Regions from separate parts of the Homo sapiens genome. Here region 1 is linked to region 2. Evidence: promoter capture Hi-C in 16 types of primary human blood cells and fetal thymus (Javierre and others, 2016). All regions are on one chromosome and are shown on one strand. The core of a region is centred on a gene start or on the middle of the fragment in contact, and the rest is flanking DNA. Distances in the headings are between cores, read along the strand shown. Region 1 holds the start of OR5D14 (olfactory receptor family 5 subfamily D member 14). Region 2 holds the start of OR5W2 (olfactory receptor family 5 subfamily W member 2).

The links. Contacts are between HindIII fragments. The CHiCAGO score rates a contact against its expected background, and 5 or more counts as called.
Region 1: a contact is called between the fragment with the promoter of OR5D14 here and the fragment with the promoter of OR5W2 in region 2, in 5 of 17 cell types (neutrophils, naive B cells, total CD4 T cells and 2 more). The highest score is 5.8, in neutrophils.

What each region holds. Positions count from the first base shown.
Region 1 is chr11:55,793,967-55,798,188 of GRCh38, reverse strand. OR5D14 (olfactory receptor family 5 subfamily D member 14) reads right to left here and starts at 2,633. Exons shown (of 1, transcript NM_001004735.1): 1 at 1,689-2,633. The coding sequence starts at 2,633. The coding sequence ends at 1,689. The HindIII fragment of the contact is 1,368 bases long and covers 2,564-3,931 here.
Region 2 is chr11:55,912,928-55,917,060 of GRCh38, reverse strand. It overlaps OR5W2 (olfactory receptor family 5 subfamily W member 2), which reads left to right and starts at 2,479. Exons shown (of 1, transcript NM_001001960.1): 1 at 2,479-3,411. The coding sequence starts at 2,479. The coding sequence ends at 3,411. The HindIII fragment of the contact is 7,753 bases long and covers 1-4,133 here.

The sequences.
Region 1 (4,222 bases), core at 1,384-3,883, 120 kb after region 2:
CTGTGTTTAAATTACCCCAATTGTCTCAACGACATACTTTTCCAGTTAGTTTGGATCAAGAGTCAAATAGTTGTGGTTGTTATAGCCAGTTTACTTTGTTATATAACCATTCTTTGTGTGAGAGCCTGTGTGTGTGTGTGTGTGTGTGTGTGTGTATACCCACATGTTAGGTAATATTTTGCAAGGGAAAATAATAATTCAGCACTCTCTGTATTTTGCTTAGTGCTTTATTTTGTGTCATTTTATTTATTTCTGTACTAATTCTTTTTAACTAATGCTGAGACCAAGAATATTTATTAGCTTAGTTTCCTTCTTTTACTTTTTTTTAACAAAGCAAAAATTCTGGCTGGGTGTGGTGGCTCACGCCTGTAATCTCAGCAGTTTGGGAGGCCAAGGGGGGCAGATGACGAGGTCAGGAGATCAAGACCATCCTGGCCAACATGGTGAAACCCCGTCTCCACTAAATATACAAAAATTAGCCAGGCATGGTGGTGCACACCTGTAGTCCCAGCTACTCAGGAGGCTGAGACAGGAGAATCTCTTGAACGCAGGAGGTGGAGGTTGCTGTGAGCTGAGATCTTGCCACTGCACTCCAGCCTGGCAACAGAGTGAGACTGTCTCAAAAAAAAAAAAAAAGCAAAAATTCTTCATAGATGATTCTGACTACTGTACATTGCAGTCCATTGAGAAGCACATGGTAACTGGTTGATGATAACTGTTTGTCCAACTTTTAGTGATGATCATTCTGATCTCTGAATTCAGGTTGTGTCAACTTAGTTACTTCATCTTAAAATTATCCACAAACTTTTTGCCTAATGATTATTATGTCTGTTGAAATCATTACCTTTATTCATTTTTTAAATGTGGAGTTCTACAGTTGTGATTGTCCAATTTCATCCTTGTTTATGCTTTTATTTCTTCTGAAATTCACCTCATTAATCAGTAGGTGATGCTGACATACTATTCATATAGGAAAAATAGAATAAATATATATATTATTTAATTACTTATTTTCAGAGTAATGAATTGGTGCCCTAATATCCATTGATATTAAACAATGGCTTATTTATTTTTTTCTTTTTCAGTACCTAGATTTAAATCTATATGAGGACTTTAAATCAATTGTAATCAATATCCATTTTTATGTTTAAAAAGTTTTTTCTGACCATAAACCAGCATCAGCCATTTCAAATTGCTTCCTATATCTCTTTGAGACAATCTGATTAGCTGCTGATAGTATTCTATCTTTCTGGAGCATTAAATTGCCCAAAGCTCATCTTGCCTATTTTCCACCCTAGACTTCAAATTAGCCATTTCTCCAAGAAGCCCTAGTTTTGTTCCTAGGGGAAAGGTTTCTTTTTAGAGAAAATTTGGAGAATGTTGCTTGAATTTGTATAGTATTTGTTACCAAATATTTGTGTTTATTTAGTCATTCATATAAAAGTTAGAAATAATTTTGAAATATGGTTTCTCATTGTTTTCAGATTAAATGTTTATTTTCATTCATTTTGTATAAACTGGACTAAACTTGTAGAGATTTCTGAACCTGATAATACTGGGAATGCTATATCAATTCACATTTGACAATTCCATAAAAACCTCATATAAATATATGCTCTAGGCTTTAGAAACATTGTAGCCTCTGTTTGGGTTGTTCATTTGGATTGAAAACAACTTTTGAGACTGGTTCAGTGAAATGGAACTTGTGTATGTATTAACTTCCAGAAAGCATCCTTCACGTCTTTATTCCTTAGGCTGTAGATCAGAGGGTTCAGCATGGGGTTGACAACTGTGTAAAATACAGAGGCCACTTTGACTGTTTGCCGAGAGTTTTTGGAGTTGGGTACACAGTAAAGGAAAAGGATGGTCCCATGGAAGATGGTGATAGAAGTCAGGTGGGAGGCCCAGGTGGAGAAGGCTTTGTGGCGCCCACTAACAGAACGGATTTTTAGTACAGTCACAAAAATGAAAACATAGGAAGTGAGGATGATCAGTAGTGTACACATCTCATTGAAGGTGGCGAAGCTGAAAAGCAGCAGGTGGGGGATGAGTATATCAGAGCCAGACACAGAGATGAGAGCAGTATACTCACAAAAGAAGTGGTTGATTACATTAGGTCCAGAGAAGTTTAACCGGAGAGCATAACAAAGGAGTACCAAGGGGCCAAACATGCCCCAGAGATATGACCCAGCCACCAGCAGGGCACAGAGCCTCTGTGACATGGCCACTGTATAAAGCAGAGGATTGCAGATGGCCACAAAGCGGTCATAGGCCATCACTGCCAGCAAGAAAGACTCTGTCACCACAGCAGTGCAGGACAGGAAGTACTGCATCATGCAGCTAAAGTAGAAGATGCTTTTATCTGCCATTACCAAGTTCTCAAGCAGCTTGGGAGTGACAATGGAAGAGTAACAAAAATCAACAAAAGAGAGGTGACTAAGGAAAAAGTACATAGGAGTGTGAAATTTGGGGTTAATCTTGATTATTATGATCATCCCAAGGTTTCCTACCACTGTGATAACATACATGAGCAGAAACACAAGGAAGAGAGGAATCTGAAGCTTTGGGTAATCTGTGAAACCTAAAAGGGCAAAGGTGGGCTCCATGCTCAGATTCCTTAAAACCATCATCATAATTCCTTTTAATGGAAGGGTTGAAGAGAATTGTTCCTGCCAAAGCAAAATATGGGGTGAGTGATAATTATGTCATGACTTTCTTTGATTAAAAGGAAAAAAGGAGAAGGAATAGTTACTGGTCCTAGTTTTGTCCAAGAAGAACATACCTCATGCAGGCAGCTGTTATGTCTAAAACAAACCAAGCCAAGTCTTTGGAGTGTCTTTCCATTTTTATTACACTTTCTGTTTTCATACATATATATATGTGTGAATATATATGTGTATGTGTATGTGTGTGTATATGTGTACAGTAGTATACATGTCTACACATTAACTAGTAGCATGACATGCACATAACTTATAGAAAATGTTTATACATAAATATATAAACTAATAAAGATTCTGTGGAAAATGTAAAATATTTACATCAAACAACAACATGCATTGCTACTGTATTTGTTTATATAGACAAATTGATTAAAATATTCAGAATATATTTCTATTCTAAGGATAAAGGAAAATATTGTAGAAATCTGGAAAAAGAGCACACTAATTCCACTTTTTACCAACTTTTATTCTAGAAAGGCTACTTCTCTCATTGAATATCTTAGTTGCTGAGGAGTTGACAAGGACAATGGCCTACTTTTGACCTCTTGGTGGAATGGGCATTTTATTGGGGTTTATGACTTAAGGGTCAGCATCTACTATAGCTCAGGTATTGCATAAGTATCTTATAAGAGTCTCAAGATTTATCAGGTGAAAGTTCCCTTAAGCCTGACTAGTTTTCAATCTTATAAAAATTTACACACTAATTTAAGATGAATATAAAGGAAATATGGATAAATATCCATTTCCAAGTAGCAAGTTTATACTATTCATCATGAGATAATTTTCAATGGATATAAGGCTAAATATTTTCATGAGTGTTGACCTCATTTTTTAATATTATTGGGCACAGAATTGAATAACACAGTGATTTAACATTTAAAAAATCAAAGGCCCCATTTGCCGTATCAGGAAGACCCTATTTTCAGTTTCATAGAAAGCCTGAATACACTTACCTGCTACATACAAAGAAACAGGCTGCCACCCTCCTGTCTCTTCAGACAGTGTATACCTGAGGCACCAAGACTCTTTCATTTAACTTCATAGCCCTAGGGACTCAAACTCTGGAGAATCACTAACAACTTACTCTTTACAAGCATCAAAACAGGCAATTAAGGCAAATACCAAGTCTCTTGTGTCACATTTAGTGACTGGAATTTCCTTGAAACTACTCAGAAAAAAAAATGCAGCATGAAGTTAACTATCAAGCTTTGCTTGCATGTAATTCAAATTACAATAAAACTTTAAATACTTGCCTCATCTGTTCCAAAATTCAGTGCACCTCTTAGTGAGATATAATCTATCCTGCATGCATCCTGGGTATAAATATGCAGCAGCCAATAGCACTCCTATTCCTGAAAACACAAGTAAATTTCATAATCAAGTGCTACAGATGTCCGTGGCCCATACCTTGCTGTATTGCTTCTTCTTGCTCAGCCTGAATTTGTGTCTCATGGGGCATTCCCTATGGCAACCTGAATGTGGAAGAAAGCATAGGAGCC
Region 2 (4,133 bases), core at 1,230-3,729:
CACAAAATTCACACTTTGAGTAACTTCCAAGTATCAAAGGACTGCCATGAATAATTGTACACAAAACTTATTTTGGAAATAAATAGAACTTAGCTTTTTTCTTAAAAAGCATGGCCTCAACACATGTTTTCTTTTTTTTTTGAAACGGAGTCTCGCTCTGTTGCCCAGGCTGGAGTGCAATGGCGCAATCTCAGCTCACTGCAAGCTCTGCCTCCCAGGTTCACGCCACTCTCCTGCCTCAGCCTCCCGAGTAGCTGGGACCACAGGCGCCCGCCAACACGCCCAGCTAATTTTTTTGTATCTTTTAGTAGAGACGGGGTTTCACCATGTTAGCCAGGATGGTCTCGATCTCCTGACCTCCCGCCTCGGCCTCCCAAAATGCTGAGATTACAGGCTTGAGCCACCGCGCAGGGCCACGTTTTCTTTTAAATAATCATCTTTGTACATATCAACTATATTAGGAGAAACAGACCTGAAAGTTTGTTTATGTTTATTCTTGGTTGAACATTACCAGCCTAATAAGCAGAAAATATTTAACATCACACAATCACATTTAAAAACATACATTACTCACACATATCTCTGTGCTAGAGATTGTGGGAATGTAGAGAGACACCTAGGCCAACAGACAAATAAAATATAAATTAAGAAAAAGTGTGTTCAATGTGACGGATGTTGTACATCCATAAAATAATTGAAATGAGGGTAGTTGTCACTGTAGTTGGGGAAAAAGTACTCAGACAATGATTAATGAAAAAAAGCAGCATGTTAGATTATCTTATTTCTAAATGGGAGATGAAGGAGATTTTCAGAAGTGGAAGAAACAGGATGAACAATGAAAAGGACAAGAAAACCATTAAGTTGAAAATCTACTCAAGTTTCATTGGCTGTCTTATTTCATGATAACCATGAAGCATACTGTTAAATGAATTCTGATAAATTTCTAACATTGGTCAATTTGGTGATAAAGCTGAAAAATTAAAAATGGAGCCTTTGGTAAACTAGTTGCAGCATTCACTGGGGAAAATACAGAACTAGGAATCTAATTAATCATGTTTGAATAACATAAAGGAGTGAAGGCAGAGGCTTGAGAGATTTATGTCCCAACAGTCACCAGTAAAAATAAAATGTGATCTGCCTATTGTTCACATACCAGAGGTAAGGACAGAAAGACTTGCTCATCTCAGGTAGGTTTCTGAATGATCAATTTAAAGGACAGAGGAAAAATTTTGGAAAAATAAGAAATCATGTATTAAGGAATTTACAAATGAATGATTTTATAGATGCTTACTCAGTTGAAGCACCTCTGGAATCTAATGGCCAAACAATGATATTTTCTTATTGGATCTGTGTGAATTTGACTGACCTTACTTGTCATTGTAAGAGGATAATATAGATTTCACCCATTTATATTTTAATCAACCTTCATAAGTAAATCATTACTTTAAAAAATCACTGTACCTGTGATATTATTTTAGATGTAAATTTAAGATAGGTTCTAGATTTACTCAAATAATAATAGAGGTAACACATTACAGATATTAATTTATGAAAATTCAAGTTCTTAAGGTACATGCCATAATATTTAAGTCTAGAAGAAATAACAATCAGACCCACCCCACATTTCAATTTTCATATAACAGACACACACAGGCACACACACACACACAAGAGTAAGTGCACATATAACACAAGCAACAGAAGCCTATATATTTCAGAAACACTTATTGTTCTTCACATTTTGATTTTAATGAAAAAGTCAATTATAAGCAAATATAAGTAGTCTGTTGTTCACACTTCTTTTACCACTTACATTTGGCTTTTGTTTTTTAGAACCAGATAAGTCATCCAAATGGATTATAAATGCTGTGACAAACCAGTGATGATGAGTAACAGTTAAATAAAACATTTTTCTTTTCCAGTAAGCACTAACGACACCACATCAAAAACAGTACCATAATAATTTTCTCTTATTAACTTACATGTAATATCACTGTCAGTGGTAGAAAAATGTATATATTTCTTGAATAATGCAATAAATATGATCCTTTTTTGTCAAATATATGAGATGCTTAGTCCGGTATGTTCTGGCCCTTGTGACTCTAACTATGGTGTTTCTTTCACATCCTTTTGGATCTGTACTGAGCTTTCAGTTTAATCAAATTGACTGCCTTAGATTGTACAATAGAAGCAAAGACAAATGATATATGTCAGAAATTGCATGTAAGTTTAGATTCAAAGTTGATCAACTTCCTTTGGCAGACACTTTTAGGGTTTTTTTTTTTTAATACAGTAATAATGCCTCTTTGAAAGTGACACTCACCTGGGATACTTTTTGAGGGTAAAGAAGATAATTTACATAAACAAATCTTGTTCTACTTTACAGATAATTTTTTTTTTGATATCTTGGAAAGTCAAGTTCTAGACTGTCATTCTCGTAATGATTTCTGTAGCAGTTTGAAACAAGAACAAGGAAGAATGGACTGGGAAAATTGCTCCTCATTAACTGATTTTTTTCTCTTGGGAATTACCAATAACCCAGAGATGAAAGTGACCCTATTTGCTGTATTCTTGGCTGTTTATATCATTAATTTCTCAGCAAATCTTGGAATGATAGTTTTAATCAGAATGGATTACCAACTTCACACACCAATGTATTTCTTCCTCAGTCATCTGTCTTTCTGTGATCTCTGCTATTCTACTGCAACTGGGCCCAAGATGCTGGTAGATCTACTTGCCAAGAACAAGTCAATACCCTTCTATGGCTGTGCTCTGCAATTCTTGGTCTTCTGTATCTTTGCAGATTCTGAGTGTCTACTGCTGTCAGTGATGGCCTTTGATCGGTACAAGGCCATCATCAACCCCCTGCTCTATACAGTCAACATGTCTAGCAGAGTGTGCTATCTACTCTTGACTGGGGTTTATCTGGTGGGAATAGCAGATGCTTTGATACATATGACACTGGCCTTCCGCCTATGCTTCTGTGGGTCTAATGAGATTAATCATTTCTTCTGTGATATCCCTCCTCTCTTATTACTCTCTCGCTCAGATACACAGGTCAATGAGTTAGTGTTATTCACCGTCTTTGGTTTTATTGAACTGAGTACCATTTCAGGAGTTTTCATTTCTTATTGTTATATCATCCTATCAGTCTTGGAGATACACTCTGCTGAGGGGAGGTTCAAAGCTCTCTCTACATGCACTTCCCACTTATCTGCGGTTGCAATTTTCCAGGGAACTCTGCTCTTTATGTATTTCCGGCCAAGTTCTTCCTATTCTCTAGATCAAGATAAAATGACCTCATTGTTTTACACCCTTGTGGTTCCCATGTTGAACCCCCTGATTTATAGCCTGAGGAACAAGGATGTGAAAGAGGCCCTGAAAAAACTGAAAAATAAAATTTTATTTTAAGGAAATAGTAAAAATACATGTTTATACACACAAAAATGCATATTCATACTGGTGTTTTCTTCAAATTATATATTATAACATAAAGTTGTCTCAAATACCCTAATTTAATATAATACATATTTTACTCAGCCACAATCTAGCAATTCTCTGGAATTGTCTAAATATGCTATTTTTTTAATGTGTTTTCAATTTAGGTAAGGTAATTTCTCTATATTTGAAAAATGCTCCAGTCTTTGAGTTAGTGGGGCAAATTTTTATTTGTTTAATATATATTTCAGAGTAATTTTTCTTTTTTTCTTTTCTTTTTTTTTTTGTGATGGAATCTGACCCTATTGCCCAGGTTGGAGTGTAGTGGTGCAATCTCGGCTCACTGCAACCTCCGCCTCCCTGGTTCAAGTGATTCTCATGCTTCAGCCTCCCGAGTAGCTGGGATTACAGGTGCCTGCCACCAGGCCCGGCTAATTTTTGTGTTTTCAGTAGAGATGGGGTTCCAACATTTTGACCAGGCTGGTCTCGAACTCCTGACCTCAGGCGATCCACCCATCTTGGCCCCACAAAGTGGTGGGATTACGGGCGTGACAGGCAGTAATTTTTCTAAGACTTATTGAGTGTTTAGTACATGCCTTTCACATTGCTGTGTACTTTGCATTTCATGCTGAATCCACTATATTCTGTACTAGTGAGTCATAGAATATAGTGGAAACATTTAATTAATCAAACTA